Regions from separate parts of the Homo sapiens genome. Here regions 1, 2, 4, 5, 6 and 7 are each linked to region 3. The links are contacts of gene promoters, found by promoter capture Hi-C in blood cells and fetal thymus (Javierre and others, 2016). All regions are on one chromosome and are shown on one strand. Each heading gives the region's core, a stretch centred on a gene start or on the middle of the fragment in contact. The rest is flanking DNA. Distances are from core to core; before and after follow the strand shown.

The links. Contacts are between HindIII fragments. The CHiCAGO score rates a contact against its expected background, and 5 or more counts as called.
Region 1: a contact is called between a fragment that was not itself captured here and the fragment with the promoter of MDN1 in region 3, in 1 of 17 cell types (fetal thymus). The highest score is 7.1, in fetal thymus.
Region 2: a fragment that was not itself captured here is called in contact with the fragment with the promoter of MDN1 in region 3 in 1 of 17 cell types (fetal thymus); the score reaches 5.3 in fetal thymus.
Region 4: a contact is called between a fragment that was not itself captured here and the fragment with the promoter of MDN1 in region 3, in 1 of 17 cell types (fetal thymus). The highest score is 5.5, in fetal thymus.
Region 5: a fragment that was not itself captured here is called in contact with the fragment with the promoter of MDN1 in region 3 in 10 of 17 cell types (naive CD4 T cells, total CD8 T cells, total CD4 T cells and 7 more); the score reaches 12.3 in naive CD4 T cells.
Region 6: a fragment that was not itself captured here is called in contact with the fragment with the promoter of MDN1 in region 3 in 2 of 17 cell types (activated CD4 T cells and monocytes); the score reaches 6.6 in activated CD4 T cells.
Region 7: a contact is called between a fragment that was not itself captured here and the fragment with the promoter of MDN1 in region 3, in 2 of 17 cell types (naive CD4 T cells and total CD4 T cells). The highest score is 5.3, in naive CD4 T cells.

The regions. Positions count from the first base shown.
Region 1 is chr6:88,957,576-88,960,394 of GRCh38, reverse strand. The region is part of intron 1 of RNGTT (RNA guanylyltransferase and 5'-phosphatase); the gene reads left to right. Among named protein-coding and RNA genes, the nearest start is that of RNGTT, 4.6 kb to the left of the region's middle. The HindIII fragment of the contact is 1,322 bases long and covers 684-2,005 here.
Region 2 is chr6:90,571,356-90,574,661 of GRCh38, reverse strand. It overlaps MAP3K7 (mitogen-activated protein kinase kinase kinase 7), which reads left to right. Exons shown (of 17, transcript NM_145331.3): 2 at 2,855-2,965. Among named protein-coding and RNA genes, the nearest start is that of MAP3K7, 14 kb to the left of the region's middle. The HindIII fragment of the contact is 5,120 bases long and covers 1-3,306 here.
Region 3 is chr6:89,818,323-89,821,493 of GRCh38, reverse strand. It overlaps MDN1 (midasin AAA ATPase 1), which reads left to right and starts at 1,700. Exons shown (of 102, transcript NM_014611.3): 1 at 1,700-1,988. The coding sequence starts at 1,887. RefSeq lists enhancers at 763-1,382, 1,383-2,002, 1,657-2,046, 2,623-3,171. The HindIII fragment of the contact is 1,090 bases long and covers 958-2,047 here.
Region 4 is chr6:89,073,966-89,077,178 of GRCh38, reverse strand. No RefSeq gene overlaps it. Among named protein-coding and RNA genes, the nearest start is that of PNRC1-DT, 5.0 kb to the left of the region's middle. The HindIII fragment of the contact is 2,346 bases long and covers 297-2,642 here.
Region 5 is chr6:90,487,365-90,490,229 of GRCh38, reverse strand. No RefSeq gene overlaps it. Among named protein-coding and RNA genes, the nearest start is that of MAP3K7, 98 kb to the left of the region's middle. The HindIII fragment of the contact is 8,086 bases long and covers 1-2,865 here.
Region 6 is chr6:90,528,157-90,531,301 of GRCh38, reverse strand. The region is part of intron 13 of MAP3K7 (mitogen-activated protein kinase kinase kinase 7); the gene reads left to right. Among named protein-coding and RNA genes, the nearest start is that of MAP3K7, 57 kb to the left of the region's middle. The HindIII fragment of the contact is 1,050 bases long and covers 1,358-2,407 here.
Region 7 is chr6:90,509,241-90,512,258 of GRCh38, reverse strand. No RefSeq gene overlaps it. Among named protein-coding and RNA genes, the nearest start is that of MAP3K7, 76 kb to the left of the region's middle. The HindIII fragment of the contact is 2,408 bases long and covers 466-2,873 here.

The DNA of each region.
Region 1 (2,819 bases), core at 95-2,594, 860 kb after region 3:
TAAAGAGCTTACTAGGAACTGTGGGAATGTAAATATGAGACACAGCCAGGTGCATTGGCACATACTTGTGGTCCCAGGTACTCAGGATAGTGTGATGGTGATAGTGATGGTGATTTTGAAGTCATTTTATTTAGCAAATATTTAAATGTCTACTTTGTGCTAGTCCTGGGTGCTAGGGAGATGGCTAAGATATATTACCCTTAAAAAGCAGAGTCTCATGGGAGTAGCAAACCATCCATTTTAAGCACAGTTCTGTTGTAAAAAATGTAGCAATGACTCTATTGTGGTATATGATGGGAATCAGAGGTAATAAACCTAATTCTTTGAGGTTGAGGAAGAAGAGATGGGAAGGAAGAAGGAGATCAGGTGAGACTTCCCAGAGAAGGTCATACATGAATTATCTTCAGTAAATAGAAGTTTTCTAGATAAATAGTTGGCAGGGGGTGTTATTGAAAGTTTCTGTTAGGATAGGATGATGATGGGAGAGATAATAGACTGAAAAAGTGTCTTTGTTCTGGAAGATGTAAGTGAGGTTAAGAGGTTGGAGAATAGCCTGATCATACAGGCAAGTAGGGTGTGATAAGGTATCCTAATATTTATATGCTTTAAATTTTCAGTGGCATACAATTGCAGTTTTTTTTTTCAGCATCGAGATGAGATTATTTGAATCCAAGTTAAAAGCTTACTTTGACTTTTCTGTGTTTAATGAATTGATGGAGAAAAGAGTGGAAATGGAGAGACTAATTAGGAACTTGTTGTAGTCCAGGTGAAAGACAATAGTGATAGTTTAAAAGTGACAGATGAAGAGTAGAAGGCTAATTTGAGAGATATTAAGAAGGGAAAATGGACAGAACTTGATGTCGTATTTAGAATGAGGGAAAGAGGGTCAAAATTTAGTCTCAAATGTCTGGCTTATGCACATGAGATAGTTGATATTATTAGGGCTTACTGAGAGAGAAGCAGGTTGGAGGAGATATTAAGATCCTGATTGCTCAAATAGAGATCTTTAGTAAAGATCTTTTTAAAAAACATTTTTATGTTATTTCAGTAGTTTTTGGGGGACAGGTGGTTTTTGGTTACATGGATAAGTACTTCAGTGATGATTTCTGAGATTTTGGTGCACCTGTCACTCAAGGAGTGTACACTGTAGTAGTCTTTTATCCCTCATCCCCCCTCTCCACACTTCCCCCTGAGTACCCAAAGTCCATTATATCATTGTTATGTCTTTGCATTCTCATAGCTTAGCTCCCACTTACAAGTGAGAACACAGGATATTTGGGTTTCCATTCCTGAGTTACTTCACTTAGAATGATGGGGTCCAACTCCATCTAGGTTGCCATGAATGCCATTATTTCATTCCTTTTTATGGCTGAGTAGTATTCCATGGTATATATACATATCACATTTTCTTTATCCACTCATTGGTTCTTGGGCATTTAAGCTGGTTCCACATTTTTGCAATTGCAAATTGTGCTGCTGTAAACATGCCTGTGCAAGTGGCTTTTTCAGATAATGACTTATTTTCTTCTGGGTAGATACCCAGTAGTGGGATTGCTGGATCAAATGGTAGTTCTTCTAGTTCTTCAAGGAATCACCATACTGTTTTCCCTAGTGGTTGTAATAATTTACATTCCCACCAGCAGTGTAAAAGTGTTACCTTTTCCCCACATTCATGCCAACATCTAATATTTTTTGATATTTTAATTATGGCCATTCTTGCAGGAGTAAGGTGGTATCTCATTGTAGTTTTAATTTGCATTTCCTTGATAGTGATGTTGAACATTTTTCATATGCTTCTTGGCCAACTGTATATCTTCTTTTGTCTGTTCATGTCCTTTGTCCACTTTTTGATGGGATTATTTGTTTTTTTCTTGCTCATTTGTTTCAGTTCCTTGTAGATTCTGGATATTAGTTCTTTGTCAGATGCATAGTTTGCGAAGATTTTCTCCCACTCTGTGGGTTGTCTGTTTACTCTGCTGATTATTTCTTTTGCTGTGCAGAAGCTTTTTAGTTTAATTAGGTTCCATCTATTTATTTTTGTTTTTGTTGCATTTGCTTTTGGGTTCTTGGTCACGAACTCTGCCTAAGTCAATGTCTAGAAGAGTTTTTTCCAATGTTATCTTCTAGAATTTTTATGGTTTCAGATCTTACTTAAGTTTGAGTTGATCCATCTCCAGTTGACTTTGTATAAGGTGAGAGATGAGTTTCATTCTTCTACGCGTAGCTTGTTAGTTATCCCAGGACCATTTGTTGAATAGGGTGTCCTTTCCCCACTTTATGCTTTTGTTTGCTTTGTCAAAGATCAGTTGGCTGTAAGTGTTTGGCTTTCTTTCTGGGTTCTCTATTCTGTTCCATGGGTCTGTGTGCCTATTTTTATACCAGTACTATGCTGTTTTGGTTACTATAGTCTTGTAGTATAATTTGAAGTTGGGTAATGTGATGCCTTTACATTTGTTCTTTTTTGTTTGCTTACCTTGGCTATTTGGGCTCTTTTTTGGTTCAATGAATTTTAGGATTGCTTTTTCTGGTTCTGTGAAGAATGATGATGGTACTTTGATGGGAATTGCATTGAATCTAAAGATTGCTTTTGGCAGTATGATCATTTTCATAGTATTGATTATACCCATCTATGAGCATGGGATGTGTTTCCATTTGTTTGTGTCATCTGTGATTTATTTCAGTAGTGTTTTGTAGTTTTCCTTTTAGAGATCTTTCACCTCCTTGGTTAGGTATATTCCTAAGTATTCTATTGTTATTATTTTTTTTATGCAGCTGTTGTAAAAGGGATTGAGTTCTTGATTTGATTCTCAGCTTGGCCA
Region 2 (3,306 bases), core at 513-3,012, 750 kb before region 3:
CATGGACGTTCCTCAAAATGGAAGAAATGAAAGAAGGGGATTCCTAGTAAGTACCAGTTGCTGTGATGTATTTATAAATACATGGTTGAAGAATAAATTACTTCATAATCATTTCGTATTTAATAGTAATATCAATAGGTAAAGTCTGGTCTCCATGCCTGTGTTCTTAAACTAATGTTGCCACAAAGTTGAAATTTTTTTAGGACCTGCTTGCTATTCATCTTAGTTAATTGCAAGAGAAGTGAGTACTACAGGTCAGGTGCAGTGGCTCACACCTGTAATCCCAGCACTTTGGGAGGCTGAGGCAGGGCGATTACTTGAGTTCAGGGATTCAGGACCAACCTGGGCAACATAGTGGGATCCCATCTCTACCCAAAAGAAAAAAGAAAGAAAAGAAATGAGTACTACAGCCCTTTACACTGATTCATACCCAATTCCAAGCACTTACTGTTCTTTGTAGTATTTGAGGAAATACCTGGTTTTAACTTACGAATCCTGTAGATATTCATGAAGGAAAATGTCAGCACTTCTATTTTACTGCTGAGAAAACAGAAACTCAAACTTGTCCACCATTAAGAGATAATAGGTAGACAGAGCCCTACATTCAAACTCAAGTCTGTTGGATTTCAGAGCCTGGGTGTGCTCTTTCATTTATTCTAATGGTACCAGGTAGCCAGTACCCTCTATTCACAATAAAGTAACTGAATGGCAAGTACAAATGTCTGATGAGAATTGTGAAGGAGAACAAGAACCTAAACCACAGAACACTGAGTGCCCAGGGCTAGGACGAGTGAAATGGGAAGTCAACAAAACAAAGACTAGCTACCAGAGAAGTTGGCCTACTTTGAAATTTTGCCTAGAGGCAGCCCCATTTCCTTTAAGCCACTGATGAACAGAAGCTGAATATAGAGTATGTTCATCATTAGGTGCTCTAGGCTTCAAATTCTGGCTTCTCTGAATATTTTCTGACCATCCAATCTTGGGCAAGTTACAACCATGTGACTCCATTTGCCTCCCTTTTAAATGGAAGAGGATTAAATGTGTTAATGTATGAGAAGCACATAGAATAGTACCTGGCACATAGTAAACATTCAATAAATGTTAACCATTTGAGTAGCTTTAGACATTGAACAACATGGTAAATGTTCATTCTGCCTTATTGATACATGAAGTGGAATTTAAGCTATGGCTAGAGTGGTCATACACATCGCAGTTTACAACTAGTGTCCTAATATTATTATTATTAATGCCCTTTTTTTGATCTCCAAAGTGCCCTCAGTTAGATAATAACTCATTTGATCAACCTAGTTATAGTCAACTTTGTTATAGAAGAGTTTTGTGCCAGGAATTTGTTCATGTAAGTCTAAAGTAAAAGTTCCTCCAAGGGAAGATACTAACTTCTACTTCCCGACATGGGGCTTTATATATGTTACAAATTAGGACTGGTAACATTCCCGTGTTAGACTACCTGGCATCAGACTGCACTTTAACACTTGCTAGCTATATAGCCTTGGGCAAGTTTTACTTCTTTAAAGCTAGGCACTTCAACTGTAAAATGAGGACAGCATTAGTACCTTCCTCTAGGCCTGTGTAAATGAGGTAATGTATATAAAGCATTAGTTAAGTGCCTGCTGCATAGAAAGTACATATAAATATGGTTAAGAGATGCAGATTTTTTGCTAAAGAAAAAGGCCTTGATACAAAGTGCTTAGGTTCATTGGAAGCTGAGAGATTGGAGTAGGTGGTGCTTAACTAAGGTCCTTTCACAATGATAAAATCTAATGATTTTATTCTAACAAGTATCAAAAGCTATTTTTGTTTTCTTTTTTTATATTATGAAAAATGTCAAATATTTGTAAAAATAGGACTCCATGAGAGAGCAATGAACCCATGCAGTATTCATCAGTTGGCTTCAACAATAGTATGATACATGTCTGATCTTTATTTTTATGACTTTTGAAAAATAACTGTAATGAGATCTATTTTACACATCATAAAATTCACCCATTTGAAGTGTACAATTTGGTGGGTTTTGCAAATTTACCAGGTTGTCAGCCACCACCATAAATTAGGTTTTTGGTTTTTTTTTTTTAATAATTTCATCACTTTGTCAGGATACCAGCTACTCATTTACTGTTAATTCTAATTTTCACCCTCGGACCCAGGTATCTATCTATAGATTTGCCTTTTCTGAACATTTTGTATAAATGGAATCATACAATATGTGGTCTCTGGTGTCTGACTTCTTTGACTTAGCATAATGTTTTTGGAGTTCATATCGTAAGTAACATATATCAATAGTTTTTCTTGCGGAATAAAATTCCATGGAATAAATAATACTATATTTTGTCTGTCCTTCATAGCCGGTCTTTTAACATCTATATTTATATCGTTTCTCCTCCATTCCCTATCCCTGTTGAATTATTCAAAGGCTATTTTTAATTTCTTAAATATGATAGCTGAAAATATTTATTATATGTTCCTGCTTTTTGTTTTTCCATATCATCTTCTGTCTTCTCATTCATCTTGTCTGTTTTAGTTTTTTTTTCTCCATTTAACAAATCACTTTACTTTGTTCCTCCATGTGTCTTTTTTGGTTTTACTTGAGAATGAAAGGGTGTACAGATCATAAACTTTCAAAGATAGAGACAAGCATGCATTTAATTATCTTCTCACTTTAACAAAAATTCATACTTGTTCAGTGGCAAATCCAGATACTGTTGATTTCCATGTTTTTTTTTTTTTTAATTTAAAGTCTTAAAGATTGACTTTAGTTTTTTATATTGGGCTGATCTATTTGATTCCGATTCTTGTGGTGTTTTTTGTTTGTTTTTTGTTTGTTTGTTTAACTCAGGTTGTTGGAAGAGGAGCCTTTGGAGTTGTTTGCAAAGCTAAGTGGAGAGCAAAAGATGTTGCTATTAAACAAATAGAAAGTGAATCTGAGAGGAAAGCGTTTATTGTAGAGGTAAGTTGAGATTTCATTTCTTTTGTGTAGTTCTGCACTTAAGATACTCTGTGAATTTAATATTATGAAAAAGATTGGTTTCTCAGATGTCATTTCTTTGTATACATGAACATCAGCAATTCGGTTTAATCAAAGGTACTGCCATAGGAACATTTTCTCGTTCATACTCTTAATTCTGATTAAAAATTAGGGGAAAAGCGACTTAACTACATAAATGAATTCACCCCTGAATTAAAACAGTTTCATCCATGGAATTCAGATCTATTTCAAGGCGTAATATTTTAATTTTAAAATAGAAAAGAAATGGTATGCTTTCCCATTATCTAAAATTAAGAAATTTT
Region 3 (3,171 bases), core at 451-2,950:
AAAAAAAAAAAAAAAAGACGGAGTTTCGCTCTTGTTGCCTAGGCTGGAGTGCAATCCCACGATCTCGGCTCACCACAACCTCCGTCTCCTGAGTTCAAGCGATTCTCCTGCTTCAGCCTCCTGAGTAGCTGGGATTACAGGCATGCACCACCACACCTGGCTAATTTTTGTATTTTTAGTAGAGACAGGGTTTTACCATGTTGGTCAGGCTGGTCTCAAACTGCTGACCTCAGGTGATCTGCCCGCCTCGGCCTCCCAAAGTGCTGGGATTACAGGCGTGAGCCAAGGCACCCAGCCCTAATTTTTGTATTTTTAGTAGAGACAGGGTTTCACCATGTTGGCCAGACTGGTCTCCAACTCCTTATCTCGTGATCTGCCTGCCTTGCCTTGAGCCACTGCGCCCAGCCCACAAGTGCACTTTTAATGTTATGGACTCTACTATTTTTTATGACTTCCAGAATATGCTATAACTTACACCCCATAGTTTAATATTCCCAATTGAACATTTTCTTCCAATATCTGTATTAAGAAAACTGCAAGGGGTGTCTTTGTCACACTTAGTGAGGATTTCCGCAGGCTAGAGTCCTACAAGGGGAATTGCTGGGGCAGAATGTTAACTAGTTAGGTATGAGCAGAACAGGAGAGCGCTCCCCACCCCACACATACCAGGACTATTGGGTGACAATCAAACGATGGTCAGGCGGTTCTTAACTGTTTCTCTAACGTTCACCGGGGCCAGCGAAAGGCAGTCTCCTAATAGAAAACACCTGAAACTGATCAGTAGCTTCCCAGTAAGATCTCAGGAGTGGGGAGAAGCAATGCAAGTTCCCCAAAGTATGCCAACATATAAAACTTCAAGTCAACAGGTCAAGCTGCGCACTTGGTTTCTCAAGTCGCCTGCTTGGCAGTCTTCCAAGTTGTACTTTCCTCCTTTTCTTTCCGTCCCGTTCTAAAGCTTTTTGATAAACTTTTACTTCTATTCTGAAACTTGTCTAGGTCTATCCTGCCTTATGCCCTTCGTGGAATTATTTCTTCTGAGGAGGCAAGAACTAAGGTTACTGCTGACCCCTACCTATACAGGGGGTAACTGCCACCGCTAACAAGAAGGGGAGAATCAGCTTTTCTTTCTTTTTTTGAGACAGTAAAAGTCTGCTGTGTCGCGCGGCTGGAGTGCAGCTGCACGATCTCGGCTTACTGTAACCTCCGTCTCCCGGGTTCAAGCGATTCTCCTGCCTCAGCCTCCCGAGTAGCTGGGACTACAGGCGCGCGCCACCACGCCCGGCTAATTTTTGTATTTTTAGTAGAGAAGGGGGTTTCACCATGTTGCCCAGGCTGGTCTCGAACTGCTAACCTCAAGTGATCTGCCCTCCTCGGCCTCCCAAAATGCTGGGATAAAGACATGCGCCACCGCGCCCGGCCGAGAATCAGCTTTTCTCTCACATCTGATCTTTCCGTGTGTTAAGGCAGAAGCAAGGCACGGTGGGCTGAGACTCACACGCCCCCTCTTTCCTCCCCGGCCTAACGCACTCTTCTTTCTGTCCCACCACGTGCTGTGTTCGCGAGTCCCCATCACTCCTGCATCCAAACCGACTAGATTTTTGTTTCCATTTCCCTCCCGGAAAAGGCGGGACAGCGAAGACTGGCGTTTCCGCCGCTGAGGGGCTGAGGCCGGGAGGGCGCAGCGTAGCCGTCCCGAGCTGATGACGTCAAACGCCGTGTGCTCACCCACGTGTGGTGCCCCTCTCCCGGTGTAGGCGCTGGAGCTGAGGACGCCTTTCCTGCGGGCGTAGTTGCTGGCTGCTCGGGCACTGGGACCTCGGCGGCTTGGGGACGCTGGCCGCGAAGTAGGGAGCGCAGGTGGCCGCTCGGGGTGAGGGCCCTGGGTCATGGAGCACTTCTTGCTGGAGGTGGCAGCCGCGCCGCTGCGGTTAATCGCAGCCAAGAACGAGAAGAGCCGCAGTGAGTTGGGCAGGTTCTTGGCCAAGCAGGTAAGACGTGAAGGGAGAGGGAAAGCGCCGGAACGACTGGGTCGCCCCACTAGTAAGCTTCCTGCGCTCCCCCGCCGATACTCGCCGCTTTAAGTGGGGAGTGGTGCAGCCTCAGGTCAAGCTGGCCCCCTCCTGTGGGCTGGCGCAGGTCGTGGAGGTTTCCGAGCGTGTTTGAGGCGATTGGAAGGAGTCTTTTGTTTTTATCTGGGGGAGCCTTCCAGTACCCTTCCCATCGCCTCTCACCCCTATGCAAGCGCTTTGGCTGCTTGTGGCAGAGGTGGCCTTCCCAAAGGAATGTGGTTTGTTTTTCTGAAATTGAGGTTGCGTTTCTGCCGTTTTGACAAGTGTACGTATCACCTAAGTGTGCGTAGTGCAGCCACTCCTGTTAGTTTGGGGAACCATCGACAAATACTGATTGCATTCCTGCTGTGCGTAAGGAACGGTGTGGCGCTGTGAGAAAGTGGATAGATAAATTCGTTACGATCTCTGCCATGAGGGAAATTTGCATCTGTTTTTGGAGACAGTTCGTAAACACTTACAACAGCTGAAGTACAGAGCAAGACAGCTCATACTCACTGTAACTAACTATACAAATTATAAGGTTAATTAGAGTTTTCTGGGAAATAGGTCTTCGGGCTTTTAAGAACCTTCTCATTGACTCCTTCTATCTGAGTTGAAGACACTTTTTTTTTTTTTTTGAGACGGAGTCTCGCTGTGTCGCCAGGCTGGAGTGCAGTGGCGCGATCTCGGCTTACTGCACCCTCCGCCTCCCGGGTTCAGGCGATTCTCCTGCCTCACCCTCTCAGTAGCTGGGATTACAGGCGAGCGCCACCATGCCTAGCTACTTTTTGTATTTTTAGTAGAGACGGGGTTTCACCATGTTGGCCAGGATGGTCTCGATCTCTTGACCTCGTGATCCACCCGCCTCAGCCTCCCAAAGTGCTGGGATTACAGGCGTGAGCCACGGGACAGGTGAGTGTGGTCCCAGGTACTTGGGTCCCAGGTGTGGCTAATTAAAAAAAAAATTTTTTTTTTGTAGTTGTAAGGTCCCCCTTTGTTGCCCCGACTGGTCTGGAACCCCTGGGCTCAAGTGATCATCCCGCCTTGGCCTCCCAAAGTGCAGGGATTGTAGGAGTGAGCCACCGTGTCCGGCCTAAATTTTTTTTTTTTTTTTTTTTTTTTT
Region 4 (3,213 bases), core at 220-2,719, 740 kb after region 3:
TCTCTACTAAAAATACAAAAATTAGCCAGTTGTGGTGGTGCATGCCTGTAGTCCCAGCTACTTGGGAGGCTGAGGCAGAAGAATCACTTGAACCTGGGAGGTAGAGGTTGCAGTGAGCCGAGATCACGCCACTGCACTCTAGCCTGGGCGACAGAGCAAGACTTCATCTCAGGGAAAAAAAAAAAAAAAAAAAAAATCAGATCCTTTTGCTTGGGCCCAAAAGGCCAAACTTGGAGGTAACAAGATATTCCAAGGGTAAAGGAAATTTTAGGAGAATTCTCAGAGTTCTTGAAGCTTTTTGCTCCAGTGTACATCTTGATTTTATTTTTGTTAAGCTAATCTTTAGAGGAGGTTAGAAGAAAAATAAAAGATTGGAAAGTAAACTAGGTATTAAATAGCAGAAAAAAGAGGTAATGCCCATTTATGAAATAAGCAGCTTACCCGCATTGACACTAAGCAGAACTCCAAATTCCACTTCTCTCTCTTCTATCTACCTTTGTCTCTCGTGTATTTTACCTCTGTCCTCTTTCTCTCCCTCTCTCTGTATGAAATGTCATTTTCTTTCCTCCTACCCTGAATGTCTTTTTTCCTCTTTATATAGACTTTATTACCATTTTTTCTACCTATTATTACTTAGATTTTTTTTTCTTTTTCTTTTTTGAGACAGGGCTTCACTCTGTCACCCAGGCTGGAGTGCAGTGGTGCGATAACAACTCACTGCAGCCTCCACCTCTGGCGTTCAGGAGATTCTCACACCTCATCCTCCCTAGCTGGCGCATGCCACCATGTCTGCTAATTTGTGTGTGTGCGTGTTTGATAGAGACAGGGTTTTGCCATGTTGCCCAAGCTGGTCTCGAACTCCTGAGTTCAAGTGATCCAACCACTTTGGCCTCCCAAAGTGCTGGGATTACAGGCATGAGCCACCTCACCCAGCCTATTGCTTAGATCTGTAATGTCTAAGGTGTGAGGGACACCTGTGTGAAAAGAGGAACACTTAATCAAACTTCTATTTTGCTTTTTTTTTTTTTTTAGACGGTGTCTCACTCTGTTGCCCAGGCTGAAGTGTAGTAGTGTGATCTCAGCTCGGCTCACTGCAACCTCCACCTCCCAGGTTCAAGTGATTCTCCTGCCCCAGCCTCCTGAGTAGCTGGGATTACAGGTGCATGCCACCATGCCTGGCCAATTTTTGTATTTTTAGTAGAGATGGGGTTTCACCATGTTGGCCAGGCTGGTCTCAAACTCCTGACCTCAGGTGACTCGCCCGCCTCAGCTTCCCAAAGTGTTGGGATTATAGGCGTGAGCCACTGCACCCGGCCTTCTGTTTTGCTTAATGCTCAAATTATTAATCTTTCAAATTTATAAAATAATAGTCTTCTAAACATAAAACAACCAGGAAATCAAAATGTTTTTGTTTAGCAAGTAAAAATTTTCCTAACATTTCAGCATTGATTACAAAACTTATTTTATAATGTACTCTGAAGAGTTTAAATAAAAATCTAAAATTTGTGTTAAAAAGCAAAATATGCACAAATTTTCACAATAATGACAAATTTATGACACTTGGAGTGCTTATAAAGTATTGTTACCATAGATTGAAATTAATGTCTCCATTATCCCTATACTTATATCTCTCTGGGGTTACAGGTTTGTACAGGTTATAATTTGCATGAGGGTACCTGGCCAAAGAGTCAAGGGAGAGCTGAAACAGAGCTTTGACTCTGCTCTTGAAGACATCTTCCCAAGGGCTGGGGCCATCTGGGCATCGCTATGATTTGAACGTTTGTGTCTTCCCCAGATTCCTATGTTGAAACCTAATAACCAGTGTGATAATGTTAGGACGTGGGGTCTTTGGGGAGTGATTAGGTCATCAGGTTGGAGCCCTCATGCATATGATTAGAGGCCACAGAGGCCCCTCCTCCTTATACCACTGAGGACACAGCAAGAAGTCTGCAGTCTGCAACCCAGAAGAGGGACCTCACCAGAACCTGACCAGCTGGCACCCTGATCTTGAACATCCCGGTCTCTGGAAGTGTGAGAAATAAATCTCTGTTGTTTGTTATCTACCCAGTTTATGATATTTTGTTTTAGCAGCCAGAATGGACTAAGGTGGCTTTTTCTTATTGGTATGAAGGTGTCAAAAGGACTAGTGGCAACCTTAGGGTACAATAATAATGATGGACATTTGATTCTATTTCAGCCTAGATATAAAACCAAAAGAAAAAGCGTGTCATGGCCGGGTGCAGTGGCTCACGCCTGTAATCCCAAAACTTTGGGAGGCCGAGGTGGGAGGATCACTTGAGCTCAAGAATTTGAGACCAGCCTGGGCAAAATGGCAAAACCCACAAAAATTAGCTGGATGTGGTGTTGCCCACCTGTCATCCCAGCTACTCAGGAGACTTGAGGTGGAAGGATGGCTTGAGCCCAGGAGGTCAAGGCTGCAGGGAGCCATAATTGCGCCACTGCAGTCTAGCCTGGGTGACAGAGTGAGACCCTGTTTCAAAAAAAAAAAAAAAAAAAAAAAATAGAAAAAGCATGTCATTTAGACCAGCTGATGTTTAACCAATTGCATCTTAGCTGGGTAACAGTCTCCATTATGCCTTCCTTACCTGAGCCTTGCTCTCATTGTATACATTGATCAAGCTTTTAAAAATCCTTGCCATTTGCAGAATGTATTTCTTTATTTAGTTTATGGAGATAGGGTCTTGCTCTGTTGACCAGGCTGGAGTGCAGTGGCACGATCGTAGCTCACTGTATCAAACTCCTGGGCTCAAGGAACCCTACCACCTCAGGTTCCTGAGTAGCTGGGACTACAGGCAAGTACCACCACACCTAGCTAATTTTTAAATTTTTTATAGAGACAGGGTCTTGCTTGTTGCCCAGGCTGGTCTTGAGCTTCTGGCCTCAAGCAGTTCTCCCACCAGTGCCTCCCAAAGCGCTGGCATAAGCCAATGCCCCTGGCCCTGCAGAACTTTTAATTTCTAGTAAATTGATGCCTCTCCCTGAAATACGGTGTATTTTTTCAAGTTTCAGTTGGCTAGCCTTGCAGAACCTAGTTTCTTATCATTATGTATTGACCTGGCCTGTTAACCATTTTTGTAGACTGATTTTGCCTCATTAACTTGTTATGATTAATAGAGTCATTGAAAGGGTTCATCATGCATGAGGCAGGGATAGAATGTGCAGTCAGCTGTCTTCTTCACGGCATTTGATTAG
Region 5 (2,865 bases), core at 222-2,721, 670 kb before region 3:
GTCTCTTTAAAGAGAGACAGGCTCTTCTCTTAGTCTGAGCTCTTTCCAGAAGGGAGGAGGGAGGAGGTGGAAAAGGCAGGCCAAGGATCTGTGACTAGAACAATGAAGGGAAGTTTTCTTCTCATTATTAAAATTTTACCAATGAAATCTGTGTGAAGGTTCAACTCAAGATTATTTCATTTTCTTGGCTGTACCATTAAAAAAAACTTCAAGTTAGATATTTTGAGATACTTAAGCAAGGTGACTTTTTACTGATAATTTCTTTAAATTGTTTTTCTTTATTCAGTTAGTGACACATGCTGGTAATACGTGGAGCCCTTCAGTACAATTTCACAAGAGGCAGAAAGGAATCATGTTTGCTCCTCTTCCACCTCAACACACAACCTCTGAGGTAACAGCCTGTTGTTTCTATACCTCTGCCTTGTCTATATATACATTTAAAGGAATATTTCCAAACAAAAACCAAACAACTTAATTTAAAAATGGGCAAAGGGCTTGAATAAGCATTTATCCAAAGAAGATATACAAATGGCCAATAAACACATGAGAACATGATCAACATCACTAGTTATTAGGAAAATGTGAATCAAAATGAGCTCTCACACCAAGATATCACTTCACATACTTTAGGATGGCTTTTATAAAAAAAAAATTATAACAACTATTGGTGATGACGAGAAGAAATTGGAAGCCTTGTGGCACTGCTGGTGGGAATATAAAATGGGGCAACTACAATAGGAAACAGTATGACAGTTCTTCAAAAAATTAAAAACGGAATTACCATGTAATCCAGCAACTGTACTTCTGGATATATAACCAAAAGAACTAAAGAGACTTCAAACCCCATTTATATACCCATATTTATAGCAGCATTATTCACAGTAGCCGAAAGGTGGAAGCAAACCAAGTGTCCATTGATGGACGAATAGATATAAAGAAAATGGGGCCGGGTGCATGGGCTCACGCCTATAATCCCTGCATGTTGGGAGGTTGAGGGGAAGGATCACTTGAGCCCAGGAGTTTGTATATACATACAGTGGAATATTATTCAGCTTTAAAAATGAAGGAAGTTCTGACACATGCTTCAACAGGGATGAACCTATATTAGGCTAAGTGAAATAAGCCAGTCACAAGAGGACAAACACCATATGACTCCACTTACAAGAGGTTTCTAGAGTAGTCAAATTTATAGAAACAGAAAGTTAAATGGTGCTCACCAAGAGTTCTGGGAAGGGGATTAGACAGTTATTGTTTCATGAGTATAGAGTTGCAGTTTGGGAAGTTGGAAAAAATTCCAGAGACAGACTGTGGTAATGGTTGTGTAACAGTGTGAACATACTTAATGCTCTAAATCTGTGTACTTAAAAGGGGTTAAAAAGTTAAACCTTATGTATATTTTAACATAACTTTTTTACATTAAAAAATATATATGCAGATGTTCAGGAGTGTTGGGTTTTGTTTTTGCTTTGCTTGCTTGCTCTTACTAAAAGAGAGTTATAATATACATATACTTCTGTGAAACAAACCACAATCCTTAATGGTACAAAACAGCCAGTTAATGATGCTTAGAATGAGGGATTCCATGCAGCAGCAATTTGACTTTGGTACAGAAGGGACAGCCGTGTCTGCTCCATGGCATCTGAGGCCCCCTCTGGAAAGACTCAAAGACTCAACAGCTGGGAGCTGGAATCATCTGGAGATTTCTTCACTTATGTGTCCAGCACTTGATTCTGGGTCCTCACCTGGGCGGTCCATCGGAACACCTACCTGTGGACCCTCCATGTGGGCAGCTGCTTTGCACTTCCTCATAATATGGCAGCCACATCAAAGGGCCACATCCCAAGGTGCCAAGCAGAAGTATATAGAATTTTTACAATCTAATGATAGAAGAAAAACTTTACCCAAAATAAATTTAACAGAGTATATTAGAGCAAAGAATGACTTGAGAATTGAGTAACCCTCAGAACAAGAAAAGGTTCCAAGAACTCCACTCTGCAACATGGGCAGTGAGTATTTACAGAGAGAAAAAGGCCACAGAAGGCGGAAACAAGGAACAAAAAGCAGATTGGTCATTTCAAAGCTACTTTCCTTGTAAAGCAGAGTGGATTTTCTTATCCTGCTGGCCAAAAGTGATCTGTTTCAGAATTTGGCTATTATTTCTCTCTCTTTCCTGATTCCTGGGGAGGTCAGACAAATATTGGTGTGGTGATATGAAACTTTGGCACGAATGATGCTGTTTTGGTTTGGTCTGTTGAGTCTACAGGAGCTCAGTCCAAAATAGTGAGCTCCTATAAACTGTATTGAACACTAGCCTCACAAGTTACATTGTGTCACTGCCAGAGGCCTTGGAACCAGAGTGACTTCCTCTTGAATAGGATCTGGGTAAAATAAGGCTGAGACCCACTGGGCTGCATTCTCAGGAGGTTAGGCATTTTTAGTCATAGGATGAGATAGGAGGTCAGCACAAGATACAAGTCACAAAGACCTTGTTAATAAAACAGCATGCAGCAAAGAAGCCAGCCAAAACCTGCCAAAACCAAGATGGTGATGAAAATGACCTCTGGTCCTCCTCACTGCTCATTATACATTAATTATAATGCATTTGCATGCTAAAAGGCACTCCCACCAGCACCATGACCATTTACAAATGCCAGGGCAATGTCAAGAAGTTACCTTATATCGTCTAAAAATGAGAGGAACCCTCAGTTCTGGAAATTGCCCATCCTTTTCCTGCAAGTAGCCATTCTTTTGCTCCTTTACTTTCTTAATAAATTTGCTTTCACTTCCCTCTATGAACTCGCCCCAAATTCTTTCTTGTGTGAAGTCCAAGAACCCTCTCTTCTTGGGGTCTGGATCAGGACCCCT
Region 6 (3,145 bases), core at 633-3,132, 710 kb before region 3:
AACACTGGGTGTAAATTCCTGACTTATGAAAATATTTTCCCAGTCTTTCAGGTAAGATATTAAAAGCTGAGCTTTATTTTTGTCTGTAAAATAACTTCCAATTCCTTTTTATAAATATAGGGATAAATTTCTGGTCAAAGGCCAATTCTGGTTCATGTCTACTGATGGTAATCTGCCCCTGAGGTTTAAATTTGGCTTAGTATTCTTTTGCTGCCTTAAATTGCTGTGTCACGTTTCTATACTCTTGTGACTTTCATATCCAGTTCTTTTGGTAAGTCAAGTTTGCCTATATCTCTTAAACTTTGCAATTAATGTGGGGATAGAATAAGTAATTTTAAATGTCTTAGAGGAAGGAGCAACTTAAATGAGTTTTAATAGTTTGAGAGCATTTGTGACCCTCAGAATTTTACCAGTGATTTTAAAAAATAAGTACTGTAAAAACTTCTTCAGTAGTTGGTTACAAGCAGTAACATAAATTCAGCCACAAACTAGTTTGAGTTTTTTCATTGATTGTCAGATGTTATGTGTTCCTCTTATTTATGCCTTGTATTATTCACATACTCAAAAACTACAGTTATGCCTTGTTTTTAAATATTTCCTTAGTTTTTTTATACAAACATATTAGCATATTTTTATTTATTGAGATACACATTTCTTAAAATATAAAGATTTATTTATTAGTTAATGGATTTAAATCTAACTGTGCTGGTCTAAAAACAGTTTTGAAACTTGCATTAAAAGTGCAAGCCTTATATTTCTTAGTTTCATAGCTGTTGGAAATTACAAGTGGGACAAACAAGCATGCACAGAAGGTGCTAAGAGTTTCTTGGAAAGTAGAAGGTGAAAAGAAAGGTGTAGCAAAGAATCATTTTGCAAAAGATTTAAGCTTAAGGAGTACTATAAAATTCCTATTAGGTCCAACTTATTTGTTTTAATATTGCAGATGTTCAGTGACCTCTTTTTTAAATATACTAAATCCATTCTCATTTTAAAAACCTAATTATTACTTCTACTGTATTTTGTTGATTTCTCACAACTGATACTGATTCTTACATGTCACAAACATGTGTTTCTCTTTTTAAAATGTGCATTAGCATTACACTGACTCTGAAACCCTGGTCTGCCACCACTTTGAAGGAAAAATGCCTTTGATTTATAATAGCAGTTATAACTATGGGCATATTTGTGTACTTGCTTTCAGTCAAAGAAAGTTAAAAAGACTCAGGAATAATTTCATAATGTCTATACTTGCTTTGTCAAGGGTAAAAGTATCCTAAAAGTAAGAGTGAAACATTTCATCACTGGTTTTCTTTGGTGTATGTCGTTGTTATTCTTATATACTAAAGGTAAATAAGCTTAAGCACCAATCTTGTATCTGAGTGCTAATAGCTTGTGTTCTCATTTTATTCAATGAGTATCTATTATGTGTTTATTATATATTCAGCAATTTCCCAGATCCTGGGAAGTACAATATAAAAAGTACGCATGGTCTCTGCCCTTAAGAGGTTATAATACTTTTGAAGAGGAGTAAAACTTTGAGACTACTATAATTTCGGGCACAAGTTGAAGTAGGAACTGACTATACAGCCAAAATTCAAAGAAGAAAAAAATCTCGTGTGAAGACATTTCATGTACATCATTTCATTTAATTTTTATAACCTTATAGATAGATAATACTGTCCTTATTTTCCTATTGAGTCTTAGAGGTTAAATAAGTTACCCAAAGCTGTACTAGTTAGAAATGGCAGAGCACAGTCAAACTCTGGGCTGTCTTGTCTCCAACACCCAACTTCTTACTGCTACTACTTTTTCTCATTCACACTTCATCAATGAGAAACCTAAGTCTCAGAGAGGCTAAGTTACTTACACAGGTTCACACAGCTGTAAGTGGCAGAATGGAGACATAACCCCAGGTCTCCAAAGTATTAGACTGAAACATGTGAAGTTGCTGAGTTTTCAACTACAAAAACACCAGTTTTATCTGGTTCAGTTTTATGCATGCCCTGTGCACTACGCCGTATTATCTTTAGGTGAATATGAGGTCAGGATTAAAAACTGCAAGGGAAACAGGGGCATGAGGAATTTTAAGAGGAGAGAAAATCCAGATGGGCAAGGTAAACCTGCTGATGGAGAGTCATGAATGCCAGAGTGAGAATTTCAGAATTGATTCAGTAACAATCAGTAAACGAACATTTTGCCTGCAGTACACTGTTAGGCACTCCATGTCCTCAAACACAAGGTCTGGCCTTGTACACAAACAACCAGAGAAGTGGCAAGAATCACCACATAATGTAGAAGAAAACCTGAGCTGGGCCTTACAGGGTGGGGAAGGATTAACAAGGAGAAGAAAAGAACAGAATGAGCAATCTTATATGGAGTTAAAAATTGGTTATGGTGTAGAAAAGCTTTTTGGAATTTCTGAAGCAATTTCAGTGGGTACCCAAAATGAAAGTCATATTTCATCAGTTTTTCTTCAAAGTTAATTTATGATTTTTTTCTCTGAAATTGTTAGGAAAGTACCTTTCACTAAAAGTATAATTAGATTGTTTGTAACACAAAGGATAAATGCTTGAGGGAATGGGTACCCCATTTTTCATGATGTGATTATTATGCATTGCATGCCTGTGTCAAAACATCTCATGTGCCCCATAAATATGTACCTACTATGTACACACAAAAATTAAAAATTATTTTTAAAAAAACAGAAATGAGAGGAAAACAAAGTACCTGTCACTGTTTATTATCCTGAATCCATTGTGGCTTTTCAAGACCTAAAATCATATAATTTTAGCACTATATGGAACACTTCTCATCACATTCTTAACCCAGCCCCAACCCCTCTCCAGATAAAGAGAGGTTGAAGTGATCTGAAGCAGACATTACAGCATAATTAGAACTCACATACGATGGATTCTACTCAAAGGTACTTTTGTATTGCATTTCATTTTACTTGTTGCAGTCTTGAATTTGAGTGTTTGTATATATGTTGAAGCTAGATATAAGATTCTTCATGAATTTATTTTAAGTTTTATTTTCTATAACTCCATGTTCTTTTTTAAGTCTCTTCTTTGGTACTCAGTAACACATCAAGAAAAAAAAGGTGCTTTTTAAAAAGTCCTTATGAGGCCGGGCGCGGTGGCTCACG
Region 7 (3,018 bases), core at 420-2,919, 690 kb before region 3:
AATTTTAAGTTTTCTGTTGTTTTTCTTTTCTTTATTTTTTTAAGTTGCAGCTGCTTTCTGCTTGCTCAAAATCCCAGCAAAGACTAGGTTGGTTGTTATGCCACAGAACAATTGGCAAAACAATATTTTCAGTAACAGTGAAGATAGTCTTTGTAAAAATGTTTGACACTATCTCATACAGATGCTGTCAGTGGTCCTTCCTGATATGGTGGTGCACGCAGAAATAATATTTGCATTGGCAGATCATGTAACACTTAACACCAGGCTCTATGCTCCTTTTCCATCCATGACTAGACACTGGTCTTGGAGGTTCTGACACCCCCTGCCGTGCATTTCCACCAAAATGGAACGTCAGTTTAAATGACCTGCCCATCTGTTACTTTAGGCAGCCTTTAAATCAGTAGGTTCTATGTTATGCATAACTTGAGTCTTCCAAAATACATAAGACCACTTTTAAATGAAGCTTTTTTGAGAAATGAATGGCTATTTAACTGTATTTGAGTGTCATGGTACTTTCAAATTTCCAAGTCATGAAAGGCATTACTTTTCCTTTAATTTAATGGTTAATGATATCTTATCAGTGCCATGTAGCAGCAGGATCATTGCTTTGAAAGCACCAGAAATTACTGAGTAAATGCTGGATATTTATATTCTGAAAAGCAAAAGTAACTTACAAAATGCAGTTACTTTTCAGACTTGTTGCGTGTTTCTATTTGTGGATACCTCTTCTTTAGTTATTACTGGAATGATTACATTAATCATCGATTGGCTCATTTACTAAATTCAGACTAGAGACTGAAGAAACCTGAAACTGGGTGTAACTTTGGTTGTAGAATTAATGGTGGTATTCCCTCATCACATGCTCTAGAACCATTTTGGCTTTTAATCAGTTTCCTACAAAGGTCCTTAACTAAATATCCATCTAAAATGTGATAGACATCTTACTTAGAAAAATTGGCACCACTCTTGTTCCTTTTGCATGTACCATGAAAATATTATCTAAGCTGCATATGAAATGGATGAATTATATGCTTACAAAGCAGATCTACTTCTGTACATTGGGGCCATGATACTATTAGTACATTCTTAGAATTATGTAGTCAGATTTCAGTTTTACTATCTTTGCATTCATGGTTCCAAGTTTTATGTTTAGGAGGATTGAGGAAGTAGTATAGATTTCCTTGGCCTACACTGAACATTTCTTCCTATTGTGCTTTCTTTTTTATCCATATTAGAAAATTCCTTAACCTCAGTGCCTCAGACCATGTTCACTATCTCTCTATATTCACTAGGATGTAAGTTGGGCTGCTGCCCAAAATAATGGCTGAAACAAGTTAGCAGTTCTTTTTTTCTCATATAAAAAACTAAAGTAGTATAATTATATACATCTTCATTGCCGCCAAAGGGAAGAGGGAAAGGGTAGGAATTGTGAAGGTGCACATCATTTACACTCATATGTTTTGACCAGAACATAGTCAAATGGCCACTCCTAGCTGCAGAGAGGCTGGGAAACATCTCTATAATGGATAGCCACATGCTTCGCTTAGGAGATCAGATAGAGTTAAGTTACAGGTGGAGGATTGAAAGGTTATAGGAGACAAGAATAGCCTCTGCCACACTACCTTGGGAAGGAAAATAGGCCACTGCCTTGACCACTTCCTCCTTCCCCACTCTCCACAATAAAAGGGGAGCAGGAAAACCTGGCCTCTCACTAGAATGCACAAGTAACTTGCATCTTCATTAATGTAAAACTCTGATCAATATGGTGTACACATACCTGGAGATTTTCATGTATTTATAATTGATGCAGCTTGGAAAAATAAAACTTCAAAATGTGTTTTAAGTTGAAACACCTTAGCTGGAAACTAGATTTGAAATAATTTAAATATTCAGTATCAGACAGTGTCCCTTAGAAGAGAAACTTTGGTAGGAAGTCCATTATGAAAAGAAAACAAAATTTAACTTACAAGCATAAAATAGGTGTTAACAAACTTAGAGTTGTCAACAAAGACAAAGAGAAAGAAACTAACATTTATTAGGTGTATATTATGTTTCAGGCATTTCTTAAATGTGACCCTTGCTTTAGAGGTAAGCTGAAGCACAGAGGAGTTTGAAAGTTTGCCCAGGTAGTAAATTATGGACTCCAGTTCAAACCCAGGTCTTCTAAGCCTTAAGCCCTACAAAACTCTCACTTTTAATTAGTGTAGAACTTGGAGTGTATTTTCTTGTTAATAAAAGGGAAGAGAGCTAGATTCCTAGGCTCATTCACAAAAGTATATTTGGTCCTTAATATAAATGAAATAATAATGCAATTGAATGGAATAATTACAAAAGACTATGAGAGAAAATTAAAAAGTAAAGTGGTTAATGTCCAGATGTTGGCATTGTGGTGATTTTCCCCTTTTAAAAATCCTTTCCCTTCTTACTGTTTTCTGTGCAATAAAAATAAAAACCAAGAGGTGAGGAAGTCTTAGACAACACTCTGACCAAGTTTTATTGGCATGGAGAACTCCACAGGACAGCTTAATGGGCCAGGTACCCAGGCCCTTTGCCATGGACACAATTAGAGCCTTTGCCTTCATCCTACAAGAGCTGGAATTTCTCTTCCCACTATTGGCCCCAACCTGGATCCCTCCAGGTAAGGGTGGATCTGAAAGGAGGGGATTCTAAAGGTATTCCCATGGATTTGATGAGAGAAATTCTGCTCCCAGAGTTTGATGGGAGAAAGTACACATTCTGGGGAAATCCTGCTTCACGATGACAGTGTAGGACCAGGGATAAAACTTTTTTCCCAATTCCCCAAGTGATTCGGTTGCACAAATGTGAGAACCACCAAGACTTCTGGTTCCAAAATGGCAGCACAGAAGCAAGCTTGCTTTACTCCCCACCCCACTAACCCCCACACACAAAAAAAGACAAACATATAGTGCCGAGATTATCACCAGCAATATTCTAGAATTCAAATATAAAAAAGAGATAGTTCCCAGAACCATGGAGAAGTGAAAAGACTCCAAGTAG